Linked DNA regions of Homo sapiens: region 1 is linked to region 2. Evidence: promoter capture Hi-C in 16 types of primary human blood cells and fetal thymus (Javierre and others, 2016). All regions are on one chromosome and are shown on one strand. The core of a region is centred on a gene start or on the middle of the fragment in contact, and the rest is flanking DNA. Distances in the headings are between cores, read along the strand shown. Region 1 has its middle 110 kb from the start of GNL3L. Region 2 holds the start of HUWE1 (HECT, UBA and WWE domain containing E3 ubiquitin protein ligase 1).

Region 1 (7,484 bases), core at 519-3,018, 960 kb before region 2:
GAGTGAAATCCTGTCATTTATAACAACATGCATGACATTATGTTAAGTGAAATAAGCCAGGCACAGAAAAACAAATATCACATGTTCTCACTCATACGTGGGAGTTAAGAAAACACTGATCTTGTGGAGGTAGAGAGTAGTAGGATGATTACCAGAGGCTGGCAAGGGTAGTGGAGAGGTGGGGATAAGGAGGGGTTGGTTAATGGGTACAAAAATACAGTTAGATGGTAGGAATAAGATCTAGTGTTTGGTAGCACCATAGGGTGACTATAGTTAACAATAATTTATTGTATATTTCAAAATAACTAAAAGAGTAGATTTGGAATATTCCCAACACAAAGAAATGATAAATGTTTGAGGTGATGGTTATCCCAATTACCCTGACTGGATCATTACACATCATAAACAGGTATAAAAATATCACATGTAACCCATAGGCATGTACAACCCATAAAAATTAAATTGTGTACCCATAAAAATTAAAATTAAATTAAATTATTTAAAAAGAAAACAAAACCCAAAAACCATAAAGGGAATGATTGGTAAACCTAACCATATAAGTTTAAACAAAGTTTATCTTTGCATATACCACAAGCAAAGACAAAAGACAACAAATGGGTGTGGGAGACATTTGTGCAAATACATATATAATAAGAATATTTATTTCAATATTACAACACATAAAAACAAAAAATTAGAAAAAAATAACCACTAAAAGACATCCAATTAAATAAATTCTGGTAACTCCATACATTGTAATAATATGAATTTGTTTTGTCTTGTTTTTAATAAGGTAGATGTATATGTATTGGTACAGGAAGATGTTAAGTGTTATATGAAAAAGGCAATTATAGAACTTTCATTGGTGTAAACAAAAGCATATATTCATATTTATCTTTATGCAGAAAGATACATGCTTGTTTGTATATGCATGGAAAATGGGAAGATGTAGACAAAACTGTTAACAGTTACTGTCTCTGGAGATTGGTATTAGGAGAGAAAAGCATTGGATGAGAACTTTGTTTTTAGTTTATACATTCATTTATTCTACAAATATTGATTGAACTTACATACCAGCAGTTTTAGATCCTCAGGATACAGATAAGGCTTCTGTTCTCATTTCTGAAGAGGAGGCAGACAATAAACAATTACATAAATGAGCAACGCAATTTCAAACAGTGACAAGGGCTATGCAGGGAATAAAAAGGAGTTTATATGACAGAAAGCAGTGGGGCCAAGAGTTGTGTGGGCTATTTCATACTGCGTGGTTTGGCAAAGTCCTCTCTGAAGAAGTGACAATTGAGTGAAGACAATGACAAGAAGGAGCCAGCCACTGGAAAAGCAAGGGGAAAAGCATTACAAAGAGAAGGGACTCTCTGTTTAAAGCTGGCGAAGGAAAAAAAATTTTTTTTTAAATAAAGAGAAGGAACACTCAGTATAAAGGACCAAAGGTGAGAACAACCTTGGCGTGTTCTGGAAACAGAGGCCAATGTAGCTGGAGCTACATTCCTTTACATTGAAAGGAAATAAATGAAAGGAAGAGTCGAAGGAGCTGATTGATGTTCAGATCAGATTATGTCTGTATTGATTGCTTTTGTTTTTATATGACAAGCTTGTGGTCATTTTTAAAAATAAAAATAACATATTAATGCTTTTAAAAAAAAGATTAAGAGAATCTGACAGACCAGCTCCATCACTGGCTGTGTCACCTTAGTCAAGTTAATCTCACTAAGCCTCAGTTTCTTCACTTGTAAAATGAGGAAAAGTACACTCACCTCAGAGGGCCGAAGTGCAAATTAAATTAAACCTATTTAAAAGGCTGTTTTTGTTAAGACTCTTTTGGATGCAAGGAACAGAAACCCAGTGAAGCTAGATCACGAATCAGAAATCCAAGGGCAGGAAGTGAAGTACAGATAAAGCTTATTAAGCCTGGAGCTGCAGGAAATTTCTGGATGAGGCATGGACCCTCTGCTCTGGAGCTTTACCATTAATGTAATTCATCTGCACTACATGTCTGCTTCTCTCTGTACATCTGCCCCAGCTTCCTCATTCAGCCAACCACCTTGAACTGCTCCCCCAGGATTTTAACAGGCACTTGACCTGATTCATAATGCTGCACCCACCTACCCAGCATCCTGGTCTACTGGACCTGTCAGCTCAGCTCCCCACAACTAACTGGCAACTCTCCTCTGGATCTCTTATTTCACATTCCCAAGAGAGCAATCTGATTGGCCCACCTCATCTTCTAAAGCTGGGCCATACAACTCACAGGTTGTGGGCTGGCCTTGGATCAGGTGCTGTATCCTAAAGGAAGGGTGGATGTAATACATAGTTAGTCCTTGCTTGATCATTTGGTAGGAGCTGTAAGTAGAGCCAGTGCTCCCAGAAGGGGATGTAAAGATGGCCAGTGGCCATCAAAGATAGTGGTGGCATCTCTGATGCATGTGTGCAGCAGAGTGACTGGAACATGGCAGGTGTTCAACAAATAGTCATAATTATTCACGGTAACATTATGCCACCTCTTACAGGAAGCCTTCCCAGAACTCTTAAGGTTCCCAAACTTTTTCACCCAGATCAGGACCCCTACTGCAGGAATCATCCAATTAAGAAATCAATGAAATTTCATTATACAGGACAGACTTTTATGGCCTTCTAGGTATAAAGCACTGTACTGGGCACTGGGAGGAAGGATACACAAATGAATGAGGCCCTTATCCTGGCCTCAAGGAGCTCTGAGGATAGTAAAAGGTAAAAGGCAAACTGAGCCATGAGAAATCCACAGATAGGGAGCTCTGGGAGTTCAGAGAAGGGCAAAAACTGTTGTTTATCCGTATGTATGCCTGTCTCCTGGATACCTCCCTTTAGATGTCCCAAAGGCACCTCGAACTAAATGTATTTAAAACTGATCTCATCTGCTCCCTCCCAAACCTGTTCCTCTTCTCAGATTCCCTGTCTCAGTGAGGCAAGTTCATCCAACCCAGTTGCTCAAGCTTGAAACCTGAGCTGCACCCGCTCACAATGTCAGCTGTTGCAGTTGCTAAAGTTGTCCCCGAACCTTTGGTGTGTGTTTGCCTTGCCCCAAAGGTCAGAACTAATAATAAACTTCTGCATTGCTGCAGGATACGGAAATTAAAACCAGCCTGGAGACAGACAAGACCCGGAGTCCACCAGGTTTGATTTCGGACTTGGCTTCTGATGTCAACGGGTATGATCCCTTTCAGGAAAGCGGGTCGACAAGAGCCTAAAACATGTTTATGACATTTTCCTGGTAATTCTGCTCCTAAATCGATATCCACCCACCCCTACTCCTACAGGAAAAGCTCTAAGCACAAAATTATTCCTTGCAGAGATATATTTTGGTGGTCAAACACTAGAAAGTAGTTTTAATATCCAACAAGAGAAGGGTTAAGTGAATTGTGGCACAGCTGTCTAATGGAACATTCTACAACCATTGCTGAGAGATGACGGCTGTGGAGATTCTATAGCAACAGAGAAAAATTATTATGCCATAACTAAGGATGCAGGGTTGTGTGTACACTCTGACTGCAACAACCTAAAAACTGCATGGCCTCAAGCTCTGCTGATGGACATTTAAAATTTCTCCTCTATTATTACTTTTTAAAAAGGCCTTAACTTTATGTCATGTATGGGTATCTCTGGGTTTGGGGTTTTTGGCTTGTTGTTTTCGTTTTTTCAGTCTTTTCCTTCCGTCAATCAACCGCCTTAAAAATGTGTCTTCTTTGTACCAGGCCCTCCCCGAGGTGCTGGTGATTCAAAGGTCAATCACCCACAACTCTTTCTCTGGGATGTCAGGGCAGAAGAGGAAACAGATACAAAAATAAACAGTTTCAAAAATATATGGGCCAGTCTTTATGGGCCCACTTGTGGACGTACGCAGGCACGGTCACCCCCTGGCGGCCACTCGACTACCAGCTCTTGGGTGGCTCTAACCTCTGGACAGCGGCTTCCACTCTCGGTGGCCAGCCCCAGCCTCGTTCTCCGAGAGAGTCCAAGACTCCTCCCTCTCCCTCCTTCTGGGGCCCTCCATCCCCTAGTAGGCGTCTCAGCCTGGGCCTGGCCCAGACAAATCCGACCCTGTTACTCTCACCGGAGCTCCTCCCTCCCCGAAAGCCTCACTCCGGCTGTGAGCTGCAAGATTACGTCATTGTCAATGGTTCGCATGCGCCCTCACCACTGGACAATTGGCGCACCCCTGCCGCAGGCGGGCGTAGCTTCGGGCTCCGGGGTTCTCCCTTTTCCTTTCCTGATGTTTTTTTTAAAGTGGCGACACACTACTTGTAAGAGACGCTGGTAAACTCGTGGCTTTAGGAGGAAATGGGAGCCAAGAAAAGCTGCAAAGCTCAAGGCTCACGACCGCTTGCTCGCCATTGTCCCACTCACTTCCGAAAGAGATAACGCCCCTTTCCGACTCTTTTGGCCTCCCCGCTCCAAGAGTGAGAATCGAAGCCCCGCCCCGTGAGCGTCTAGTCCCAAGATAACCCAGCTGCGCTTGCGAGTGCAAGTACACTGGGGCGGGGCTGACAGGAGGCTGATGCAATCGAGTCGGGCGGGCGGGGCACGTCGGATGAAAGTGGGTACCGGAAGAAAAGGGGTTATTTCAGCAGGCTTAGTAACCCTATTCAAAGTAAGACCTTAATATATAAGTAAAAGTTCGTGCCTGATTTGGAGAGCTCTTTGACTATTAAATTTTTTTTAATGTAACGCCTGTAATCCCAGCACTTTGGGAGGCCAAGGTGGGTGGATCACTTGAGTCCATGAGTTTGAGACCAGCATGGGCAACACAGTGAGACCCTCCCTCTCTATTTTATTTTAAAAAACATTATTTTAAAGGTATATATCCTATTGGCTCAGCAATCCCATTTCCATATATATACATCCAAGACTCCTAGAGAAGTGTATGCGGATCACCTACAGGGCTTTGTTAAAACACAGATTGTTGTGGCCCATCTACTATCAGAGATTAGGAACTTGTGTTTCTAACAACTTCCAGGGTAATGCTGGGGCAAACTGGTTCAAGACCACACTTTAAGAACCTTAGATCTAGAGGACAAAAAACTGCAAGGAGCCTTATGAACAAGTGTAAGCCGTGCTGATTTGTTGGCAATAACGAAAAATTGAAAGTATCAGTGGGGGCAGGAGATGGTTGATAAACTTATCAGTTTAAAATGGGCTATATATAGGCCGGGCATGGTGGCTGACGGCTGTAATGCCAATACTTTGAGAGGCCGAGGTGGGTGGATCACCTGAGGTCAGAAGTTCGAGACCAGCATGGTGAAACCCCGTCTCTACTAAAAATACAAAAATTAGCCAGGCGCCTGTAATCCCAGCTACTCAGAAGGCTGAAGCAGGAGAAACGCTTGAACCCGGGAGGCGGAGGTTGCAGTGGGCCGGAGATTGCGCCACTGCACTCCAGCCTGGGCAACAGAGCCAGACTATCTCAATTAATTAATTAATTAATTTAATGAGCTATATATAAACTGACATGGAAAGATATCGAAGGTGATGATGATAGTAGTGAGGGTGGTGATGATGATACTTAATGTTTATTGAGCACTTACACTGTATCAGGCACTGTGTGAAGGATTTTACATTTCTTACCTCATTTTCTACAGCAATTCTCAGGAATGTGGACTGTGTCTAATTCGCTGTATATTTTTAGTCCAGAACAGGGTCTGGCACCCAGGATCTTGTCAGTAAATGTTTGTGGCCTCATGTGATCAGATCCAGTCCCACAAGTTCACAGTCCCAAGAGTTTAGGACTTCACAGCCCAAACAATATTTCAAAAAATTGCAAAGGATGGATAAAATATTGCGGAAGAAGGACACTAAAAACAAACTACTGCCTTCTATCACCATCATTTTAAGAAAAGACAATTACACATAATCCCCCATTAAAGGAACGAACTTTTTAATTTATCTTTAATATGAAAATTTTTAACATATGCAAAAGTAGAAAGAAGAGTAAATGAACCCCCAAGTACCTCTCACCCAGCTTCTCAATTATCACCTCCTGGCCAAGCATCTTACATCTCAAACCCCAACACACATCGTATCCCAGATTACTTTGAAGCAAATGCTAGACGCCATTTTCTCCATAAATATTTGAGTTCATGTGTTTAAAATATAAGAACTCTTTTATAATAATAACCATAATACCACAGAATATCTAAAAATTTAAGAATAATTTCCTAATATTATAAAATATCCAAGTATTTACATTTCCCTGATTTATACATATCTTTTGCAGTTTTGCACAAATTAGCAAGTAAATAAGATAAAGCAGAGGCCTTTAAATCAAATATACACTACAGTGTCCTTTTTATCTTCATTTTACTGCAGATTGGCAAAAACTATATCAGGCCCTTGCACAAGATGACAGACCAGTATTGGGAACTACTGGCATAACATTCATTCAAAAGTAGATAGTGAGATATATATGTGTGTGTGTGTGCATGCACATGTGTGCACACATGTGTGTATATGTGTGTATACATACAAACTGCAAAATATATATGTGTGTATACACACACACAGCCTGACACTTCTAGCGGTACACAAGGGTAAATAAGACAGATGCAGTCCCTGTACTCCTGGAGCCAACATTCTACTGAGAGAAACAGACAATTACCAAGTCAAGAAATACATTTGGAATTTAATTTCGGGGTCATAATATGTACAATGAAAAAAATAAAGAAGGAAGATAAGGCAGTAGAAAATGATGGAGGCAGTAGTACATTGGCAAAATGGTGAAGTAGGCAGCTCCAAGCTCTTGTTCCCCTACAGAAACTGATAATCAAGCAGAAACTGACAGAACCAACTTTCTCAAAACTCTGGAAAACAATGAAAAGTTTATAGCAACCAAGCAAATGCTGAATAAAGAAAAAGGCAATAACAGATGCCAGTGAGGTTGCAGAGAAAAGGGAACACTTATACACTTATGGTGGAAATGTAAATTAGTTCAGCCACTGTGGAAAGCAGTGTGATTTCTCAAAGAACTTAAAACAGAGCTACCATTTGACTGAGCAATCCCATTACTGGAAGTCTCATATACCCAAAGGAAAATAAACCATTCTACTAAAAAGACACATGCATGTGTATGTTCATCACAGTGCTATTCACAATAGCAAAGATACAGAATCAACCTAGATGCCCATCAACAGTGGATTGGATAAAGAAAATGTGATACATATATACTGTGGAATACTGTGCAGCCATAAAAAAGAATGAAATCATGTCTTTTGCAGCAATATGAATGCAGCTTGAGGTCATCATCCTAAGCAAATTAACACAGGAACAGGGAACCAAATACCACATCTCACTTATAAGTGGGAGCTAAACATTGAGTACACATGGACATAAAAATGGGAACAATAGACACTGGGGACTACTAGAGGTGGGAGGGGGAGGGGGCCAGGGTTGAAAAACTACCTATTGTATACTATGCTCACTACCTGGGTGATGGG
Region 2 (7,064 bases), core at 701-3,200:
GAGTTTGAGACCAGCCTGAGCAACGTAGTGATACCTCATCTCTACAAAAAATACAAAAATTAGCCAGGCGTGATAGCACACGCCTATAGTCCCAGTTACTCGAGGGAAGACTGAAGTGGGATGATTGCTTGAGGTGGGAGGATCGCTTGAGCCTTGGAGGTCAAGGCTGCAGTAAGCCCTAATCGCACCAGTGCACTCCAGCCTGGGTGACAGTGAGACACTATCTTAAAAAAAAAAAATGTGTGCTACCTTTATCCAACTATTTCATTTCTCCATGTTTATCTCACAGAAATATTTTAGCATCTGCAGAAAAAAGCATGTACAAGGAATTTTATTGCAGCATTGTTAACAGTAAAAAAAAAACCCCACTGTAATAGTCAAAGATTGAAAATAACATGTGTTTATCCATAGATGAATGATTACAGTATATTCATTCAATGGAATACTATGCAGTAGGTAAGATAAATGAGGTAGATTTATATATATTGACATGGAAAGATCTTCAAGCTACATTAAGTGAATAAAGCAATTAACATAACAATACATAAAAAGGATGCTATTTATTTTTTAAATGAAAAACAAAAACAAAGCCATGCTTTTCTATTTGTGTATATGAATGTAAGGGGAACTTTAAATTTATCCGTGTTTTACAATAATCATGTGTAATTAGGAAACCAATTTTAAAATGAAAAAAGAACAACCGAAGTTAATTACATGCTAAAGAAAGTATAGCTTCATGTTGCCACTAAATGTTACAGATGGGCCGGGTCTTTCGCCTGTAATCCCAGCGCTTTGGGAGGCCGAGGCGGGTGAACTGCTTGAGCCTAAGAGTTTGAGACCAGCCTGGCAACATAGTGAGACCCCGCCTCTACAAAAAATAAAAAGTTATCCAGGCGTGGTGGCGCATACCTGGAGGCCCAGCTACTTGGGAGACTGTAGGCAGGCAGGAGGATCCTTGAGCCCAGGAGGTCGAGGCTGCAGTGAGTCGTGACCGTGCCACTGCACTTCACCCTGGGTGACAGAGTGATGCTTTGTCTCAAAAAAAAAAAATTGTAAAAATATTCAATGAAACAGTGTATCTCGAAGGGGCCCTGTACATCTCCTGAGATCATATACAAAATTTTATGTGTAAGTATATATTGGGGTGGGGGACCCATTCATTAGATTCTCAATTCGAGGGATGAACCACTGCTCTGGAGGGCTGGAATTAGAGAAGTGGAGGGTATAATCACAGTTTTTATTTCCTCGATGTCTCAGGAGTTCTTTTAATAGTGCTTTTGTCTTTAAATACTAAATTAATACATACTTTTTATTAAAAATTGAAACCTTATCGAAGTAGCTAGAGTTCCAAGTCAAAGTTCTTCGCCCCTCCAATGTCGTCCGCAGCCCACAATAATTAAGTAGGGTTAACAGGTGATCTCCCACCAGGTCCTTTTTATTCCCATGTATTTACAGATGCAGATCCTCTACAGGATCCTTGTCAATCGCACTGCCGTTCCAAATAATTAAAGGAGGAAAAAAGAATGTTTATTGAGGGCTTACTATGTGCCTGAAGTGTTTTAAGGGTTTGCTCGCGTGAACTCTGGGTGGTCGGCTTCCCACGTCGTCTCCCACCCTCCGCTCTGGGTCCAGCCTTGCCCTCTTGCCCCACACTCCCCATTCTTCACAAGGCATCTGGCGAGGTCGTTAATTTTTAAAGGTAAATCAGATCAAATCATGTTCCCTTCCGCGGCTTCCACCGTGCCTCGAATCAAATCCCAATTCTTAGCGACCCTATCATCCTCTATGGTTGCATTTACTGGGCCTTGGGTAGCTCAGGCGCGGTCCCCTGCAAGGGACCCGACTTCACCGCGGAGGGAGCTCCCTCCCGAGGGGCAGGGGCGGGGCTTCGCTTGCGGTGGGTGGAGCCCCAAATCGAGTTTGAGCTGAGCCGAAGCGAGGAGGCTTTCGACTGAGGGCTAGCGAGGGGAGCAGGGCTGGAGCAGGGCTGGAGCAGGGCTGGAGCAGGGCTGAAGCAGGGCTGAAGCAGGGCCGCGGACCCCGCACGCTCCTGCGGGCCCCGCGGAGCCATTGCGGCCGAGGTGAGCGTCTATCCCTGGGCTGGAGGGCGAGCTCTGTACGCGCGGCCGTTCTCGGTTTCTCGCGGGTGGCAGTGGCGAGGTTGGGGGGGGAGTTCCCACGGGACCCTGCGCGGAGGCGCGGAGGTGGCGGCCTTGGGGAGCCTGCGGGAAAGGCTGCTGGAGGGGCAGGGCGGCCTGCCCCAACCCTCCCTGAACCCCGCCTCCTCTCCCCTCCCCCAGGCCTCGGCAGGCGCCAGCGGAGAGCTAGCCGCATCTTCGGGGGCAGCCCGGCAGCTGCCGGCGGCGCGGCGAGAGAGCGGCTGACAGAGGGGATGCGAGGTACCGGCATTAGCCATGGCCAAGTGGCCCTAAAGAGAGAGTAGAGGCCGGGCCTTCAGCGTTTCTCACTGGTTCGAGGAAGGCGGCCTCAGAGGAGAGGGAAGGTGAGGGGCGGGCAGGCAGGCTTCGCGGGTAACTACTAGGCGTTGCATATATATGTTTTGATATCTAAATGGTACTACACACACACACACATTCATTTCGACTAACTGCTTGTTTAAAAATCTGAGAATATGTCTTGTAGATCTTCTTATATCCGGGAATCCAAATTTATGTTGGGTTTTAAACAGCTGCATTGTATGATTGTACTACAGTTTATTTAACCATTTCCCGATTGATATACATTAGCTTGTTTCTCTGTTGGGGGAGGGAGGGGACTATTACAAGCAATGCCATAATGAATGGGTTTGTGTATATGTATCATGCCATGTATGAGTATTTCTGTAGGAGAAATTCTTAGAAGAGTAACCGCTGGGTCAGGGTGTATATGCATTTTGAATTTTGATAGATTTGTCCAAATTGCCTTCCCAAAAGCCTGTACTAATTTACACTCTTTAATGTTGTGCGAGAGTGCCTATTTTTCCACAGTTATGCCAACACGTATTATCAATCTTTGTAATTTTAGCCAATTTAAAGGGCAAAAAAATCGTATGTCATTGTTTTCATTTGCATTTCCCTGATTACTGGCGAAATTGATCATATTTTTGTTTGTAAATAGGCAAATATCAATAGTTTATATAGGCAGTTTTCCTATCTATAAGCAATAAGCATTTTGAAATTTTAATAATAAAAAACCTGTTCGCAATAGCAAGAGAAACGAATAAAAATACCTAGAAGTAAACTATAAAACTTTATTGACGAATACCATAAAAGAACATCTGCATGAAAAGAGAAGGAATACTATGCTTCTGAATAAGAAGGCTCAATATTTTAGTGATGTCCATTTTTCCTATATTGGTTTATACAGTTGATGCAATTTCAATAAATATACCAAGTTTTTTTGGAACTTACTATGATTCTAAAGTTCATCCGGGGGAAAAAAATGGCTAAGAATAACTGAAAAAAAATATTTTAAAACGTAAGTAAAGATAGGGATATTTGTACTACTGGCTATTAAAATGTACTCTAAAGGAACTATTTAAATTAGAACGGACAGAACAATGCATTAGAATGGAAAAGCCCACAAATCAAGCCAGATTGGATCCCAAGATTTATTGGAGAAACACTGTTGGCTAGACGTGGAAAAACTGCCATATTAAAAGCTTCAGGCATTTCCCCCCATCCCCGAAGCTTGAATATTCCTTTGAGGGCAGACTCCTTTGTTTGGAGAAAACCACTTTATTGGATCTTTTTGGTTATGCCAAGGTAAAGCTTCAGTAGTTAAAATTGGTGGCTTTGGAACTAGAACTAATGATATGGCCTTTAGTTAGATTAAGATGGATTCAGGTTAGCCTGCAGTGCGGCGAGGGAAGGAGTCTGGATAATGTAGGTTTAAAAATTTTTTTCCCTATCTAATGGGCAAAAAATGTTATGTCATTGTTTTCATTTGCATTTGTGTGCTTACTGTGAGATTGAACGTCTTTTAAATGTTAGTCCAGGATAATATGTTATTCCTGGAGACAGGTAACAATGGGGGACTCTTTGCTCCGCTTCCAGAATGGAGTTTGGCTAATTGGTACAGCCTTGCCCGGAAGCGTGAGAATAAACAGGTTGACTTTTTAAATTTTCCTCAAGCACTAGGCTCTAGACACCTAGATCGGGGGCGGAGGCAGTTTTCAGGACATGGCCGAGATTTGGCGCTGAGCTGTGTCATCGCGAGGTTTGGCAGCCAGCTCCGCAGTGGGTCGGAAACCTCGTGGTAGGCGAGATCCCTGCAGGACGGGAGGGTTCCTCCCTTCCCCCGAAAAACTCCCAGTCATTTTCATGAAGCTCCGCCTTTCTCCTTTTTAGGAGTGTGCACCAGGTCTCGCGATATCTCATGTTTCCTAAAGGCGAGGCGCGGGCGGCATCCTGCGGTGAATTAAGAAGGTCTCGCCGAGGCTAAAGCGTAATATCGCGATAGTTCTCAACGCATGCGGGAGCCGGCCGTGGTAGGTTGGCTCCGCCCCTCACTGCTTCGTTAGGTTGTGCGTCATTTGCTTTTCGCTTCGCGTAGGGTGAAGCTGTAGCTACTTCGGCTTTGGTGGGAGGGAGGAGGGGTCTGGAAAGGGCTGGGCTCAGGCTTTTCCCGTCCGGTAGAGGTTCTCGCGGGATCGCGCGGAGGCGGCGGTGGCTCGGTTACTGACTGCAGTAGCCGCGGAGGCGGCGGCAAGGTCTTCGGCTCGTGCCGTTCTAAGCCGGAGAATTCTCGCGGGAGCAGGGTTACGTCCTCGTGGGATTCGTTGGCGGTGGCTGAGGTAGCTCGCGGGTGGGGGGTGGGGGGGCAGTGACTAGGGTCGGTCCGCCTGCTGTTAAGATGGCGGCGGAGGCTGATGTCTGTCCGGCCAGGACCCAGCACAGAGGTGTTGGCTATCTGCCTTTATGACGCCTCTGAGGTGCCCAGCGTTAAGGAGGTGACGATTGGCGAAACGCCGGGGTGCCGGTAAACTAGACCTGAGGCGAAGACCACCTCGTTTCTTGTCCGTTGAGGCGACACCATTTCCTGGGCCTCGGCCGCGTGTGGGCCCGCCTTTGCCCCACCGATCGGTCAACGCCTCCGTTGTCGCCGCCGCAGTGGGCGGATTGGGAAGGGTGGGAGGGGAGTCTGGAGTTCGCTGGGGAGTGGGGTTGGGGGTTAAATTGAACGGTGGGAAAGAGGAGCAACCAATGAAGAGTGGCCCCTTTCCCCTACCTTTTCTGCCGGCCAACCTCCGTTCTCAGCACCTCCGACGACCCGGATGAATACCCTGGTTTTTCTCGAGGTGGGGTCATCTTCGCCAACTCTCGCGGTTTTAGAGCTAAGGCTTAGGGTTCAAGCAGTAGTGTCACTGGTGTACTCCTCCTCCTCTCCCCACACCCCTCCTAATTCTGTCGTCCCATCTAATCTTCATCTACGTGGATAGTTGAGGCTGGTATTTAAGGGAGGGGGGAGTCAAAGCTTTTCCCTGTGACTCCTTCCCCAGTTCTAAATTCGAGTTTAGCCTAAGTCCTCTAGCCCGCTCTGTCTCCCCCTTCCATTGGTCCCCTTGGCGCAGGCGTTGAATAGAGCTTATCCTGTTGCCTGCATTTACTCCATCTTTGTGGATGGTGCCATAGTAGCCTTCCATTTCCTCAAGTCTTCATGTTTGTATGACTCTGATCCGGATTTCTTAGCTCTGCATGCTGCTAAACCACTATTAAGCGAAACTATGAACGGGTCGGTGTTTGGATATTGCAGTTTAAGTGGCCTTTTCGTTTACGGCCATTAGCCTTGCCTTCCTCATTCCTCCCCCTCAGAAGGCTGTAGAGGATAACTCTCCAGTAAACCCGCTTTCTGTCTTCCCTGCCTCTTCCATTTCCCCTGCAAGCCTGGGAACCGCCCCTTTTCCCTGCCTTGCTCTGAGTTTCTGGAGCCTCTTGGTCTGTGGACATCTATTTTTGCTGCTGAGCACCTCTTACCTGCTTCTCACTTCTTAATCTTTCTATCCCCCACTCCCCATACTCCTTTTCCAGGAGCTGAATCCCTTAGAAGGAAGATAACCCTCCTCTCAGGCTCCACTACATTTTACCCCTTCCATTTACTAGAAAACAGCATTGATTGTCCTGCCCCCCAGTCTGCCCTGTTCTTTATTTCCTCTTCCCCCCATGCCACCGTTACTATAGGCAGTTAATTCCCTATCATTTGTTTCTCCTTTGTAGATTACATGTTCAGCATTGTTTTCTTTTAGCCCCAGTGTTGCATAGATTGAGGAGATACCAACATTCCCCAGTCATAGGCGGCGGTCTGGTATGGTGAAATTAATAGTGTGTGTTTTGGGTGTGTTTTGGGTTCACATTGAACCTTGTGACCTTGGGCAAATTTTCAGATTCTCAGTTCATCTATATAATGGGAATAGTTGTGCTTACATTAGAGGATTGTTGCTAGAATTAGTTAAAATAAAATAAAATAAAATGTTTAGCTCATGGTAGGCACATAATAAATTAGGATTACTTTTTGGTGTAAGAATGCATTGGTAGATGTACCTGTGTCATATGCTAATTTTATGACCTGGGAAAGAGTAAGAGATTTTTGTTTCTTTAACTGTACATTCTTGGTGTATTTCTAGGCCAGATCTATAACGTTTATATTTTTTTTCCTCATAGGCCAAACTTTTTATCTCCAGTGGTTCATGATGTTTGAACGTGATTCCCACTCTTTGTTTCCTTCTAATGGTCTAGGAATTTCAGTGCGTAATCACTATCCTGGAATGACCACCAGCCATAATGTTCCTGTCAAGAACCACACCCAAGTGTTCTACCTTTTGGAAGGGGTGCCTCATGCCCTGCCTACTCATTTCTTCCACTCCTTCAAAGGCAGTCTGTCCTGTCATTCACTCTACAAAAGTAATTTGGTGTCATGCATTTCACAGTGGTAAAAGGAACTTCTGTTAGCTAGTTTTGAAGTATTCATGCTACTTTTCACCTCCCTCATTTGTTTGGTTCCTCAGATCAGTGTGGGGATCTGCTATTTGGCATCTTCTTACCTGAGCAAGATAATTCCTGTCCGAG

What was found. Contacts are between HindIII fragments. The CHiCAGO score rates a contact against its expected background, and 5 or more counts as called.
Region 1: a contact is called between a fragment that was not itself captured here and the fragment with the promoter of HUWE1 in region 2, in 1 of 17 cell types (total B cells). The highest score is 5.4, in total B cells.

What each region holds. Positions count from the first base shown.
Region 1 is chrX:54,636,466-54,643,949 of GRCh38, reverse strand. It overlaps a transcript of GNL3L not described here. Among named protein-coding and RNA genes, the nearest start is that of GNL3L, 110 kb to the right of the region's middle. RefSeq lists enhancers at 4,006-4,255, 4,546-4,675, 4,242-4,767. The HindIII fragment of the contact is 307 bases long and covers 1,615-1,921 here.
Region 2 is chrX:53,681,605-53,688,668 of GRCh38, reverse strand. It overlaps HUWE1 (HECT, UBA and WWE domain containing E3 ubiquitin protein ligase 1), which reads left to right and starts at 1,950. Exons shown (of 84, transcript NM_031407.7): 1 at 1,950-2,081; 2 at 2,301-2,399. RefSeq lists silencers at 1,769-1,943, 2,017-2,316 and an enhancer at 2,527-2,606. The HindIII fragment of the contact is 15,452 bases long and covers 1-3,663 here.